2 separate regions of the Homo sapiens genome follow, and region 2 is linked to region 1. Evidence: promoter capture Hi-C in human tissues and cell types (Jung and others, 2019). All regions are on one chromosome and are shown on one strand. The core of a region is centred on a gene start or on the middle of the fragment in contact, and the rest is flanking DNA. Distances in the headings are between cores, read along the strand shown. Region 1 holds the start of TAS2R19 (taste 2 receptor member 19). Region 2 overlaps BCL2L14 (BCL2 like 14).

Region 1 (7,594 bases), core at 3,551-6,050:
TATGCTGTAGGTCCCTGAATCTTCTCAGGTTGATTTCTTTTCTTCTGGTATTTTACTTCCATTCATCGTTAGAGTATTTTACTATAGTTAAGAAACTTGCCACTTCCTGATTATTGTACCAAGTAATATATTATTATTATTATTGCTATTATTTTGAGACAGGGTCTCATTCTGTCCCTGAGGCTGGAGTTCAGTGGCAGGATCACAGCTCATTACAGCCTCAACCTTCTGGGCTCAAGTGATTCCCCCACCTCTGCATTGCTAGCAGCTGGGACTGCAGGGGCACAACATCACGCCTGGCTAATTTTTGTATTTTCTGTAGGGCTAGGATTTCACAGTGTTACCCAGGCTGGTCTCAAAATCCTGGGCTCAAATGATCTTCCCGTGTCGGCCTCCTAAAATGATGGGATTACAGTCATGTGCCACAGGGCCTGGTCTGTAATATTATTAATATATTAAATAATCACGATGTTTTAAAAAATGTAAATTAAACAGAAGTGACATAGCCGTGATATAAAACAGTGACACAGTGTTATTATTATGATACAAGGCAAATTGTTTTGATTTTTCCTCATAATGGGTGTAGATTAAGAACCATTCAGCAAATCACAAGCCCAGTAAAAAGTACCAGAAGCTCTGCTCTGCTTAGTGAAGACAGCACATCCTGGAAAGCATTTGTGAGTGTTGATTTAAGTTTCTGGTAGTCTGCATTCATTCTATAACCCGTCTGGTTTTGATAGAGGCCAGATAGGTTTAGTGAATCGGCTTATAGAAAGGACTACCATCCCCTGTAACTTTCAAGTGTTTTGTCACGGCACTGACCAGTTCCATTCCTTAGGGAATGCGGTTATTATATTTTATATATTTTGTTGCCAGTAGAGGAGAATTTCAGAGGCTTCCCTTTGGTCCTGCTATAATAATGTCCTTTACTCTACAGTTCACGAAGAATGTGAGTCCTGCCGGCTGCCATACATATCTATTTCAATTATACTTTCAGGAAGAGGTAGTAACTACAAACTGATTAGCTCCACCTTGGAATGGACATGAGCCGAAGCTCTAGGTAGTATCTGACCTTCAAAAACTCCCCCTGCAGGCTGGATGTGATGGCTCATGCCTGCAGTCCTAGCACTTTGGGAGGCGAAGGTGGGAGGATCCCTTGAGAGCAGGAGTTCCCTTCACAACATGTGGAAACTCCGTCTGTACAAAAAATTTAAAAAATTAGCTGGTGTGTTGGTGCATGCCTATAGTTCCAAATACTTGGGAAGCTGAGGCAGGAGGATTGCTTGAGCGCAGGAGTTCCAGGCTGCAGTGGACTATGATCCTGCCACTGTACTCCAGCTTGGGTAACAGAGGGAGACTGTGTCTCAGAAGAAGAAAAAAAAACAAGTATAAGTTCTCACCGGTATCTTAAACATCAAGTAAAACAGTATCGAGTAAAACAAAAAACTAAAAACTCCAAAAGTCAAAAACACTTTTAAAAAGAACATGGTGTTAAGAGTAGTTTGTTCAGTTTCCCCATAGAAAATGATTTATGGAAGGAGAATAAAAGATTATTCTGAACACTAAAACAATAAGACTGAAAAAATGAATTATCAATATTGAGAATCCAATAGACAGAGTTAACCAGTTGGATACAGTACAAGAGAGAATAAGTGAATTGGAAGATAGCTACACAGAATGAAGCATAGAAGGGAAGAGATGGAAATACACAGAGCTAGAGGGTAACACATTGATGCTACAGACAGAACACCTAACATACTTCTGGAGTTCTGTAAGATTAGAGGAGAGAAAATAGAGCAAGAGAAATGTTGCAAGGATTTTTCCAAAAGGTATAAAATGTATCCCTGAATATATTTTTAGTAATCTCAAACTTCAGGCATGATAACTAAAACCAAATTAACATAAAATAATACAGGACGCAAAAGACCAATAGAAAATCTGAAAAGTAGCTAGAGGTAGAAGATAGAGTATGTTGAAAAGAACTGTATTCTAAATACAACCTGATTTTAACAGAAAACATGGAAGCAGGAATTCAATGGATTAATGGGAATCATGTCTTCAATGTGTTTCCAAAGAGTAGTAGACCTTCATAAACAGAAATTGAAAATGATATTTTTCAGATAAAATAAAATTACTGAAAATACAAAGTTGAACACGCAAGGAGCATTACAAATTAATGACAATCCATGCTGGCTAACACGGTGAAACCCCGTCTCTACTAAAAATAAAAAAAAATTAGCCTGGCGTGGTGGCGGGCACCTGCAGTCCCAGCTACTCCGGAGGCTGAGGCAGGAGAATGGCTAAACCCGGAAGGCGGAGCTTTCAGTGAGCAGAGATCGTGCCACTGCACTCCAGCCTGGGTGACAGGGAGACTATGTCTCAAAAAAAAAAAAAAAAATTAATGACAATGAAAACTAAGTGTGTAATTCTAAATAAATGTTGACTATATAAAACAATAGTGTCTTCTTGGATTGAATGTATAATTGATAAGATATATGCAAATAGCAATAAAGAGGCTGGAGATAAAGGTAACAGGAATAAATTTAGTCAAACTGTGTTTTGGGCTTTTCTATGTCTGTGAGAAGAATTTGAACATCATAATCAAGGACCCTGTAATTCTACACCCAGATATATATACACAGAGGAATTGTAGCAAATGATATGTGAAAGAATGTTCATTGTAGCATTATTCATAAAAGCTCAAAAAATAAGCTGTCCAAATATATATCAAATAAGGATGGATAAATAATTACAGTAAAATCAAAAAATGAAAAAAATATAGAGAAGTGAAAAGATATGGATCACATGTACATGCAATGATGGGGTTAAATTTTGGATACAAAATGTTGATTCCAGGAAGCCATGAATAAGAACATATAGGATTGCACCTATACATAGATCAAATCAGGCCAAACCAAGCTATTGAGTTTAGGGTCGAATACCTTATTGGTAAAGTATAAAGAATATTAAAAAAAGACCATCATAAATTAGGGATGTTGCTTATCACAGGAGACATGAAGAAAGGTGTAGGGAATTAGAAAGTGGCATTGAGGTAAACTTAGGCTCTTAGCAATGTTCCATGTCTTGCCCTACATGATGGTTACATGAGTGTTTATGACACATTGCTATGTTTTCCATTTTTGTTTTGGTTCATTTCTAAGTGTGCAGTCTAGCTATATGATAAAAATTATTAATTAGGAGAAATGGTCCATGAAAATTATTATTACTCTGCTCATTATATACTGAAGGGAAAAATCCACTATTTGTATACATTCATGTGTAACTCTAAGAGATTTTAAGTAGAAACTTTCTGATTTTAGTTGCAACTTTAGGAAACTTGACATGATGTTACCTGCCAACCACAGATTTCTGAATAGGTTTTTCTTTTAGGTTTAATTACCCACTTCATATGACAAAACTTGGACATTCTCTATTTTTTCCTTCGATCCTGAATTCCTGACACAACAATGGTGGGCATATTTCCCACACTCCTGATTTAGCAGAATACCTACATCACTTATGTTTTTCTGCAAGAGAAAACTGAGTTAGATAATTGTGTATCATTATGTCTTTGGATTACATTTTTCTAACCTAGGTTTGGTGGATGGCTCTGGTGATTGGAGATGGGCCACGTACTGCATCTTGCCGCTAGTTTGGCTGATTTAGGGTAGATAAGGCAGTGGCATTCTGACTCCATTAGTTTCTCTTTCTTCTTCTGGGAACAGTGTGCTAGCCAGATGATGTCCTCATGGTTAGTGGAAAAGAGCAGGAAACTTCAATATGGAAGCCATCTTAAATCTCTGTAAATTCTACTAATTTCCTGTTGACTGAAGCAAATTACGTGAGTGAATTCAGAGTCCAAGGTCAAGGTAGTCACCCTGCCTGAGGTGGGAGGGTACTGCAGGATTATGTGACAAAGAGTAGGGTACTTAGAAATATTTACAAAATTGCTGAACATTTTAATTAAATAATTAATGTTTAAACAAAACAGACTTGAGTGTAAATATACCAAAGGCCTAAGCTTGAGAAACATGTTTGATAAATATTATTCATTGTCTGACAGCCCTGAGTTGGAAAATAAGACTAATACCACCTGGATGAGTTCCTGGAAACTCATTTTCCATTTGGGGAATTATAAGAAAATAATTCCTTCCATGCCCTAAGGGTGTGAGTGCATGTGTGTCTATGTGTTTAGGAGCTTATTAACAATGATGTCATATCAATTTATTGGTTATCAGAAACCAGATTTTAAAGTGTATCAGCCTCCCAGGGATTTCCAAGATAATCTTGGATGATTTTGATAAAAGGTTTAGAATCTGGTATTTAAATCTGGCATAAAAATAAGTCCATATTGGTATGATCCTAGTTATGACCAAGCTCCTTTAACAATTTAGACATTTACTATATGATATATGTATTGGGTTTTACAATTTCCCTATGGAACAACTGAAGATGCTGTATACAAATTATGGAGAGGTTAAACAAGGAAAAAAATTGCAAAACAATGAAAAATAATATGCCTTTCTTTGCATACTAACACATGAGAATTCATTTTCCACTTCAACCTCAGTATAAAAAAGTACAGCATATAGCAAGGAGAGAATGTATATGAAGAGGAGTGAATTTGAGCTGTTTTGAGAATAATGACCTTTTCTATTTCTATAAAGACAGTTTTGAATTCATCTATTAGCATATGCTGGTGCTTGCCTGTTGACACTAGTCACTGAATTTAAAGGCAGAAAATGTTATTGCACATTTAGTAATCAAGTGTTCATCGAAGTTAACATCTGGATGTTAAAGGACTCAGAACAAGTGTTACTAAGCCTGCATTTTTTTATCTGTTCAAACATGATGTGTTTTCTGCTCATCATTTCATCAATTCTGGTAGTGTTTGCATTTGTTCTTGGAAATGTTGCCAATGGCTTCATAGCCCTAGTAAATGTCATTGACTGGGTTAACACACGAAAGATCTCCTCAGCTGAGCAAATTCTCACTGCTCTGGTGGTCTCCAGAATTGGTTTACTCTGGGTCATGTTATTCCTTTGGTATGCAACTGTGTTTAATTCTGCTTTATATGGTTTAGAAGTAAGAATTGTTGCTTCTAATGCCTGGGCTGTAACGAACCATTTCAGCATGTGGCTTGCTGCTAGCCTCAGCATATTTTGTTTGCTCAAGATTGCCAATTTCTCCAACCTTATTTCTCTCCACCTAAAGAAGAGAATTAAGAGTGTTGTTCTGGTGATACTGTTGGGGCCCTTGGTATTTCTGATTTGTAATCTTGCTGTGATAACCATGGATGAGAGAGTGTGGACAAAAGAATATGAAGGAAATGTGACTTGGAAGATCAAATTGAGGAATGCAATACACCTTTCAAGCTTGACTGTAACTACTCTAGCAAACCTCATACCCTTTACTCTGAGCCTAATATGTTTTCTGCTGTTAATCTGTTCTCTTTGTAAACATCTCAAGAAGATGCGGCTCCATAGCAAAGGATCTCAAGATCCCAGCACCAAGGTCCATATAAAAGCTTTGCAAACTGTGACCTCCTTCCTCATGTTATTTGCCATTTACTTTCTGTGTATAATCACATCAACTTGGAATCTTAGGACACAGCAGAGCAAACTTGTACTCCTGCTTTGCCAAACTGTTGCAATCATGTATCCTTCATTCCACTCATTCATCCTGATTATGGGAAGTAGGAAGCTAAAACAGACCTTTCTTTCAGTTTTGTGGCAGATGACACGCTGAGTGAAAGAAGAGAAACCCTCAACTCCATAGATTCACAAGGGGAGCATCGTGGGTCTTCTAGCAGAAAACAAACTGATGGTGTCTGGAACATTTTATATTTCTATCAGTTTTTCCATAGTGTTTGTATGTGAGTAATTTCAAAACAGATACCTAGAAAAGTCATATATATATTTATGGGTGTATATGTGTGCATGTGTGTGAATAACAACGTTGACCATAAATTATGAAGCTGAGTATATTTCACATATATAGTATTTATATTTTATTATAGTTCATTGTATAGTATTTCATTTGAAGAATTTATTATCTCTCTTTATAATTAAGAACGTACAGCTTTTATGAAGAAATCATTTCTCTTTTCCATTGTAATTTGTACCACATATATGTGCTTAACTATCATTGGTGAACCTCTAATTTTTTGGATGGTAAAGACATTCAATTTTAAATCAATGATAAGAATGGATCTTTGGGGTAGGTTTTATTTCATTATGAATTCTTATTTTATGCTTAGTAGAAAGCAAATAGAATTGTTGTTAGTTAATGATGCACACAATAAAATTGGAGTGAAAAACATATGTAGAGTAAATTTTGTATATGTATACCAAAACAGTACTAAAGAATACTAGATTTAATACCAGTATGTGAATAGCCTAGAATAAAAATCATTTCTATAATAGGAATGAAGAAACATGCTGATGATCATTTCAGTGCTGTTATAATTTTTTTATCTGTAGTTAGAAAAGTCATTGCTTCCACTTTTTGAATTAAAGGAAACCTTTTGTGAAGTTGACATCTGATGTCAAGTATTTCCATTTGTTTTTCTTAGCCACCTTGAGCCCCTGAATTTCCAATTTTCTCCTTTGTCTCCCATTCCTAATATTCCTCAAAAAAACTCAAATATTCTCTATCTTAAAAAAACAGGCCAATCAAAGGAGGGTATAGAAACTATAGAAGATAATCAAATGAAACTTTCCTCAAATGTTAAAAATTATGTAAAAATTACATAAAAATCTGTGAAATCTATATAATTGATAGGAAATGTATTAATGATATGTATTATTATAATGGTGTAAATGGTGAAATTACACAGTGTGTTGATGTATCCATTGATACCAAGTTCTATTATAAGAAGGAAATGTACAGCCTTGTTGAAGAGCTAAATTCTGTGTGACTGTGTTAATTCTTGGTGTTATGAAATTTTAACATTATTATGTAGAACTTAAAATAAGTTAACTCCACATCATATATATATCTATGTATCTATATCTATATCTATAGACATATATATATATATATATATATATATATCGCTTATCATACGTCCTCCCTAGTACAATGTAATCACCATAAAAAGAGAGGTCATATCTGTCTCGCTTTCTCTTGACTCACAGGACCTAAAAGCCAGCACAAAGAATAGTTGGTCAAAAATGATATGTTAATGAACACATAAGTGATTGGATAAATGGATAATTTGATGTGGTAAATCAGTGAAAATGAAGCTCATCATAAAATCTGCAGTTGCTTGAATTTTCTATTTTCAGGTTGAGGTTATAGGCTTTTTGAAGAAGAAGCATTTCTCAGAGCAAAAGTTTGGCTAGTCCACAATTCTAGGGGAAATATCACTGTAATATAGCTTTGATGCAGCTATATCAGGTGTGTGAAGTAGAGACAAGGTGGAACGTCAAAATTAGATGGCACTTATTCTAATGCTTTTTGAAAAGCATATTAAAGATTTTGGTATATTTGCACAGGGTCAGGGTCACCTGTGAGTGCCAGCTGCTCGGGGCTAGCAGACCCCATGACAAGAATGTTAGGGAACTTCCCAGCAGCTGCCAAACACACTTTT
Region 2 (7,594 bases), core at 2,786-5,285, 1.1 Mb before region 1:
TGGCACGATCTCGGCTCGCTGCAACCTCCACCTTCTGGGTTCAAGCCATTCTCTCTGCCTCAGCCTCCTGTGTAGCTGGGATTACAGGACGTAGTGGCTCCCGCCACTACGTCCAGCTAATTTTTGTATATTTTCAGTAGAGACAGGGTTTTGCCATGTTGGCCAGGCTGGTCTTGAACTCTTGACCTCAGGTGATCCTCCTGCCTCAGCCTCCCAAAGTGCTGGGGTTACAGCAGGGTATTGATTTCTGTGGGTTTGTGGACATGGAGTGAGACATGTCCAGGAGAAACTATAAGCAAACATGTTCCCACAGATGCACTAGCTCTAGTTAAAATTCCCATCTTGGATATTTTAATTTTAAAACATGAAAAAGAAAAGATTATATCCTTGTCAGACTTGGTCCTGTCTGATAGGCGAGGGAACACTGGATGGGGTGGGGAGAAGACAGAAAGGCTGTCTGTTCCTTGGAGTCTGTTTTGGGGGTCATCGTGGCGCCAGGAAGAGCAGGCCAACAGGGTCGGAAGGTCCCATTTCGCCTGTGGTCTGAGGCATTTGTTTTAAAGAGAAAGGGCAGGGGGTTGGGGTGTGACTTCCTTATGGACTGCTCTTTCCCACTCAGTATCCACTTTCTTCTTCTTCCTTAGTAACAGACCTCTAAAATGTGAGGGGCAGCAATGAACCCAGCTGAACAAACTATATTCCCTGGGCTCCCTTGCAGTAGGGAAGGGCCAATGAGATGTCAGAAGCTGGGGGCAGTTTCAAGAAAGCTCTCGAAAAGGGAGCTAAGGCTGGGTGCGGTGGCTCACGCCCGTAATCCCAGCATTTTGGGAGGCCAAGGCGAGGCCATCATTTTAGGCCAGGAGTTCGAGACCAGCCTGGGTAACACAGACCCCATCTTTACAAAAGATTAAAAAATAATAATAAAATAAAAGGGAGCTGAATTACCTAGAAAGAAGGCACCCTTTGCCCTTCCTTTGCTTCCTTTTTATTCTTGCCTGAGATGTAGACATGATGGGTGAAGCCCCAACAGCCACCTTTAGAATATAAGGTGACTTTGAGGTGGAAGCCACGAGCTGAGGGATGGCAGAATTCCCAGGAATTCTTTTTTTCACCCCGTCATCCAAGCTGGAGTGCAATGGTGTGATCTCAGCTCAGTGCAACCTGCGCCTCCCAGGCTCAAGTGATTCTCCTCCTTCAGCCTCTCGAGTAGCTGAGACTGCAGGCGCGCACCATGGCGCCTGGCTAATTTTTGTATTTTTTTTAATAGAGACGGGGTTTTGTCATGTTGCTCAGGCTGGTCTCAAACTCTTTGGCTCAAGTGATCTGCCCACCTCAGACTCCCAAAGGGCTGGGATTATAGGCATGAGCCACCCTGCCTGGCCATTCCCAGAAATTCTTAATAACTTTGTGGAGCTGTCATATCATGCCTGAGCTGCCAAACTTTTGTCCTCTTTTAAAGGAGAGAAAAGCAAACCTGTATATTATTTAAGCCATGGGTATTTGAGTGTTCCACTGTATATCGCTGAACCTCACCTTAACTATAACATTCCACGTGAGCAAATCGTAGCTATGGAGAAACAAAAGATTCACAAGTGAAAGAGCCTGGGTTGGTAGTCTTTAAAACTGGTGTTATTGTCCATTTCTCTGCATCCTGAGGCCTCTTCCTAACAGAGTTTGGTCTTGGGACATAATCTCACAGTTCCCATGTAAGCCCGGTACTGAGGCCTGGCAGTGGCTGTACAAGGCTACATAGTGACTTACAGTTAAAATAACCCAGGTGAGGCCAGGCACGGTGGCTCACGCCTGTAATCCCAGCACTTTGGGAGGCTGAGGCGGACAGATCACGAGGCCAGGAGATCGAGACCATCCTGGCTAACACGATGAAACCCTGTCTCTACTAAAAATACAAAAAATTAGCCGGGCGTGGTGGTGGGCGCCCGTAGTCCCAGCTACTCGGGAGGCTGAGGCAGGAGAATGGTGTGAACCCAGGAGGCAGAGGTTGCAGTGAGCCGAGATCAGGCCACTGCACTCCAGCCTGGGTGACAGAGCAAGACTCTGTCTCAAAAACAACAAACAAACAAACAAAAAAGAACCCAGGAGAAACCAAATTTGCAAGGCCTGATTTGTATGTGGCAAAATAGAAATAGAATGTGAGGCTCTCTTGGATCACGCTCAATGTAAAACCGACACAAGTAACACAAGTAAAAAACACACAATTAACTGACTAAATGCAAGCGTGAGGAGAAAGGTGATAAGGGAAGATAAGCTGTAAATATGTGTTTAAAGCCTTCTTAGGAGGTAATCATTTTTCATTTTTTATGGAGAATATTATTCAGCCATAGGTACTATTCAGCTATTCAGCACATTAACACATCACCTAAGTGTTTTTGAATGTAATCTTTAATTCTCAATCTCACATAAAAGTTTTCTTTCCCTACTGAAAAAAGAAATAAAAGCTTCTCTTGAAATTTTAGAAAATAAAAAAAATGTCAAATGACACTCCAGTAAATACTGAAATACAGAATGCAATTTATCTCAGGAAAAACCAGAAGACTAAGGTCTGTAAAAGCTTTCTCTGTCTGCTGGCAAAGTCCACAGTACAGGCCAAGTAGAAAAGCCTATTTAGGTGCCTCCAAACTGTTCTTTGCCCCAGAGCCCAGATGCCACCCCCGGCAGAAGAAGCCATGGCTGGGTGAGGGCAGCTGAGGGGTGGGGAGGCAGATGTGGAGGGAAGGACCACAGGGGGCCGCTCCCTCTTGCCCTAGACCTGCCCTAGCTGGGCAGAGTTCAGAGAGCAGATGCCTTGCTGTAAAAATGAAACAAGTCTAGGGAGAGGCCTGGACTTCTGGTGAGTCCAGGCTCTGCTACTTCCTGGATGTTTCCTTGGTAAGCCCTTTTTGTGGGACTCCCATTTCCTCATCCTGTCTGTGCCATGAGGTTCCCTCAGATGATCCTGACCATAACTCCCACTGTTCTAAACATCTGAAACTCTAATGGGAAAAGGGAGTTTCCTTGATCATAGTGAGTGATCTAAAGCTGTCTATGAGTGGGCTGATTCTCCAAGCAAGCCAGGACTGTCACATTTAAAAACTGAGACATTACTGCCACCTCTTGACTAATTATTGACAAGTTACCCAGGCCAATGAAACTCAGCAGGAGGGGGCCTTTCTTTTAAAATCTGGCTTTGCGGCTGGGTGCAGTGGCTCACACTTGTAATCCCAGCACTTCGGGAGCCCAAGGTGGGCAGATCACGAGGTCAGGAGTTCGAGGCCAGCCTGACCAACATGGTGAAACGCTGTCTCTACTAAAAATACAAAAATTAGCCAGGCCTGGTGGTGCGCGCCTGTGATCCCAGCTACTCAGGAGGCTGAGGCAGGAGAATTGCTTGAACCTGGGAGGCGGAGCTTGCAGTGAGCCGAGATTACACCACAGCACTCCAGCCTGGGCGACAGAGCAAGACTCCATCTAAAACACCTTAAAAAAAAAAAAAAAATCTGGGCTTTGGGCACTGGGCTTTGTTGAAGGGGAAGAAGATGCTTATGCCAAGGTGTGCGCATGAAGGGCAACTGTCTTTTTTTTTTTTTTTTTGGAGACAGAGTCTCATTATGTCACCCAGAGCTGGGGTGCAGTGATGTGATCTTCGCTCACTGCAGCCTTGACCTCCTGAGCTCAAGTGATCCTTCCACCTCAGCCTCCATAGTAGCTGGGACAACAGGCATGTGCCACCATGCCTCGCTAATTTTTTTATTTTAATTTTTTAATGGAGACAGGGTCTTGCTATGATGCCAGGCTGATCTCAAACTCTTGGTGTCAAGTGATCCTCCTGCCTTGGTTTCCCACAGTGCTGAGAGTATCGACGTGATGGGCTCTCACTCTGTCACCCAGGCTGGAGTGCAGTGGCATCATCTTGGCTCACTGCAACCTCTACTTCCCAGGCTCAAGCCATCCTCCCACCTCAGCCTCCCGAGTAGCCAGGACCACAGGCGTGCACCACCATGTCTGACTAATTTTTTTGTATTTTTTGGTAGAGACAGGGTTTTGCCATGTTGCTAAGGCTGGTCTTGAACTCCTGAGCTCAACCGATCCACCCACCTTGGCCTCCCAAAGTGCTGGGATTACAGGTATGAGCCTCAGTGCCTGGTGAAAATGTTTCATTAAGTACAATTAATTTTGTCCAACTGAGGGAAGATTTTGTCTAAATGCTTCTCAGTTGTTTTTGTAGGATGGTTTGTACTTTGTCAAGAGTCCTTTTACTCTTGCTCTCTGATCTTCCCATCAACCATACGAGGTGGAGAGAGTGGGGTACCCAATGTACAGATGGAAACACAGAGGCCCTGAGCGAATGAGTTGACTTAGGAAGAGCAGCGGCCCAGGCAGCCCAAGCAAGCCCCTGGTTAGGGCTCGTTCTTTTTTTTTTTTTTTTTTGAGACAAAGTCTTACCCTGTAGCTCAGGCTGGAGTGCAGTGATGCAATCTCGGCTCACTGCAACCTCCGCCTCCCAGGTTCAAGCGATTCTCTTGCCCCAGCCTCCCGAGTAGCTGGGAATACAAGCATGCGCCACCATGCCCGGCTAATTTTTTGTATCTTTAGTAGAGACGGGTTTTCACTATGTTGGCCAGGCTAGTCTTGAACTCCTGACCTTATGATCTGCCCACCTCAACCTTCCAAAGTGCTGGAATTACAGGCATGAGCCACTGCGCCTAGCCTCCTTCTTTTATATTGGTGTCTGGTACAGAGGACTAGGAATTTGGGAAACAAGCTTATTTATAGACAGTGGAGAAAGAAAACCAGTCCCAGCACCCTTAACTTCCATCATTTCCTTTTAGTCATTTTTTTTTTTTTGACGGAGTCTCACTCTGTCACCCAAGCTGGAGTGCAGTGATGCCATCTTGGCTCACTGCAAGCTCCGCCTGCTGGGTTCACGCCATTCTCCTGCCTCAGCCTCCCGAGTAGCTGGGACTACAGGCACCCGCCAACACGCCCGGCTAATTTTTTGTATTTTTTAGTGGAGACGGGGTTTTACCGTGTTAGCCAGGATGGTCTCAATCTCCTGACCTCATGATCCACCCGCCTTGGCCTCCCAGAGTGCTGGGATTACAGGCGTGAGCCACCGCGCCCAGGCAGCAACTCCTTTTAGTCTTGAGAAAAGCAGGGCAATTATGATTGAACACTAATAAGTTGGAAAGCTGAGGCACAACGCATGCCTTCTCTAAAGCCACTTTACAACATGAGAAGAGATGTACCACTCTGGACACAAAGAAGGGAAAAACCAGGAAGCGGGAGAGAAAGAAATCCCAGATGCCTACCTTCATGCTCCAAGCACTGCTCCACGTTAGAAAGACACCTGGACCACTGCTGGCTGTGCGAATCTTGGTATTCCAACGTCCTTTGACCCTGAGCAGAGACCTTGGCAGGCGTGCTCTGCGAATCTTCCTTCTCCACTACTCCAAAGAATGCTTTCCAAGAAGACTTTTTCTTGCCAAGGTTTATGGCCTTCTCACTGGATTGGGAATTTCTGCAAGGCCATGACACCTCTGTCCATGACTCATTTGCTGAACAATTCCCCAGGCCCCTCTGGGACAAACTTCTTGTTCTCAGCAGCTTTGGTGAGAAGAGAGCAGGGGTGCTCTTGAAGACATGATGTCTGGTGTAGTAGGCGAGGATTTTGAATTCTATGGTGTTTAGGTCATCATCATCTAGGGGGATTTCTTCCAGGTCACACCCACTGGTGCTACACATGTTGGGCCTGTAACAACAAAGTCCACACTGTGCCCTTCTATGCAGGGCCACTTACCCTTTGCAGGTTAGGAGAGACAGGGGTGAAAACTCAGGAAACATTTATTGAACATCTATTGTGTTTGTGCTGGAGGGTAGAGAGGGAAAAGCCACAGTCTTACTAGGGTGGGAAGAGAGACATGGCCATAGATAACTCCACATAAAGAAAATGAACTGCCGGGTGCGGTGGCTCACGCCTGTAATCCCAAAACTTTGGGAGGCCAAGGCGGGCAGATCATGAGGTCAGGAGTTCAAGACCAGCCTGGCCTATACAGTGAAAGCCCGTCTCTACTAAAGATACAAAAATTAGCCAGGCATGGTGGCGCACGCCTGTAGACCCGGCTACTTGGGAGGCTGCGGCAGAAGAATCGCTTGAACCCAGGAGTCGGGGGTTGTAGTGAGCTGAGATTGCGCCACTGCACTCCAGCCTGGCGACAGAGTGAGACTCCGTCTCAAAAAACAAAAAACAACAGAGAGAGAATGAACTAATGAACTAAGTAAGAGGTCTAACAGAGATGCAGATAGCCAGGTTAGAAGGCAGGGATAGGTGAGCTTCAAAGAAAGAGGCAAGTGAAAGCTTTTGGAAAGCTAGAAGGAGTTAGACAGGTGGGTGGATATTGGGGCTACAACAGGGCGGGCAGAGGGGAGATTATAGGTGAATTCAGAATGTGTTTGAAGAGTGGTGAGAGAACTGGGACAGCATACGTATGCAGTTTGCAAATAGCCAGGGCTTGAAAATAGTGGAGGGAAAATAAGTGAACTAGCACTTGGGTCCAGATTATGGTGGTCTTTGACTATCAGGCTGAAGCTTCGCATTTTCTCACGTTGATCAGTACATTTCAAAATGAGCTGTGGACTGTGGAGTTAAAGGTCTTGCTGGGGAGGTGGCAAAAGAGGGAGGCCAATTCAGGGAAGAGAAATGCCTGGGACCTGACCCTTCCCTTCCTCGGTTCCTTCTCCCTCTACCCTCTGCTTTAGCTTGTCCCGGCTTCTCTCTCCTCTCTCTCTCTCTTTCTTTTTTCTTGCTATATTTGGTATGCCATGTAAGATTTCATCTGAAAAAAGCATCCTGTTATTTTATTTTACTTTTTACGAATTTGAAACACACTGATGGAGGCAATGGAGAGCTGTTCAAAGTTTTGAGTAGAGAGTGATGTGATCACAGGCATGTTTGAAAAAGATCAGTACAAGCACTAAAACAACAGGATGCAAGCATTTCTTCTTTATTTCCATACGAATAACAGGATAGATAAAGAACTGATTTTGTTCAATTTCCTTTGCTTGAGCTTACATGAAATAACTCCTTCTCTGGTTTCCTGCTAGGAAAGCAGTTCTTTTTGCTAATAATCTGTTTCCTTCTGCTGTCTGTTAAGGACTACATTTTCCTTTTAGTCTCAGATGCGAGAAAGCTCAGATCTACCGTGTGAAATGTCCCAGGCAGTGAGCGTATCAAGAATTAGCTTGGGCTTCTCAGTCTAACAGTCCCAAATTCAGATTGTGGCCATGCCAGTGACTAGTTTTGTGACCTGTGGCAGGTTACTCCATCTCTCCAAACATGAACTTCCTGCAGGCAAATTGTAAATAATAATAGTCATCTTGCAGGGATATTGTAAGGGTGTAAGATACACAAGAGAAGTTCCTGCACAGAACCTGGTTCAAAAGTGGTAGCTATGTTTTTTTTCTAGTTCAGCTGTTGTCCTAGGCCCCAGGCTCTCTTTTTTTTTTTTTTTTTGAGACTCAGTTTTGCTCTGTTGCCCAGGCTGGAGTGCAGATCATAGCTCACCACAGCCTCAACCTCCCCGGCTCAAGGGATTCTCTC

The links. The method cuts DNA at HindIII sites, captures the fragments that hold promoters and counts their contacts. A contact is called where the count stands out against the background at its distance.
Region 2: a contact is called between a fragment that was not itself captured here and the fragment with the promoter of TAS2R19 in region 1, in 1 of the 25 tissues and cell types used here (stomach).

What each region holds. Positions count from the first base shown.
Region 1 is chr12:11,019,826-11,027,419 of GRCh38, reverse strand. It overlaps TAS2R19 (taste 2 receptor member 19), which reads left to right and starts at 4,800. Exons shown (of 1, transcript NM_176888.2): 1 at 4,800-5,801. The coding sequence starts at 4,849. The coding sequence ends at 5,748. All of the region lies in intron 3 of PRH1-TAS2R14 (PRH1-TAS2R14 readthrough), which reads left to right. The region is part of intron 3 of PRH1-PRR4 (PRH1-PRR4 readthrough); the gene reads left to right. It also overlaps a transcript of PRH1 not described here. The HindIII fragment of the contact is 6,813 bases long and covers 393-7,205 here.
Region 2 is chr12:12,077,451-12,085,044 of GRCh38, reverse strand. It overlaps BCL2L14 (BCL2 like 14), which reads right to left. Exons shown (of 6, transcript NM_138723.2): 2 at 5,307-5,746. The coding sequence starts at 5,739. Among named protein-coding and RNA genes, the nearest start is that of BCL2L14, 10 kb to the right of the region's middle. RefSeq lists a silencer at 2,916-3,210. The HindIII fragment of the contact is 3,043 bases long and covers 2,514-5,556 here.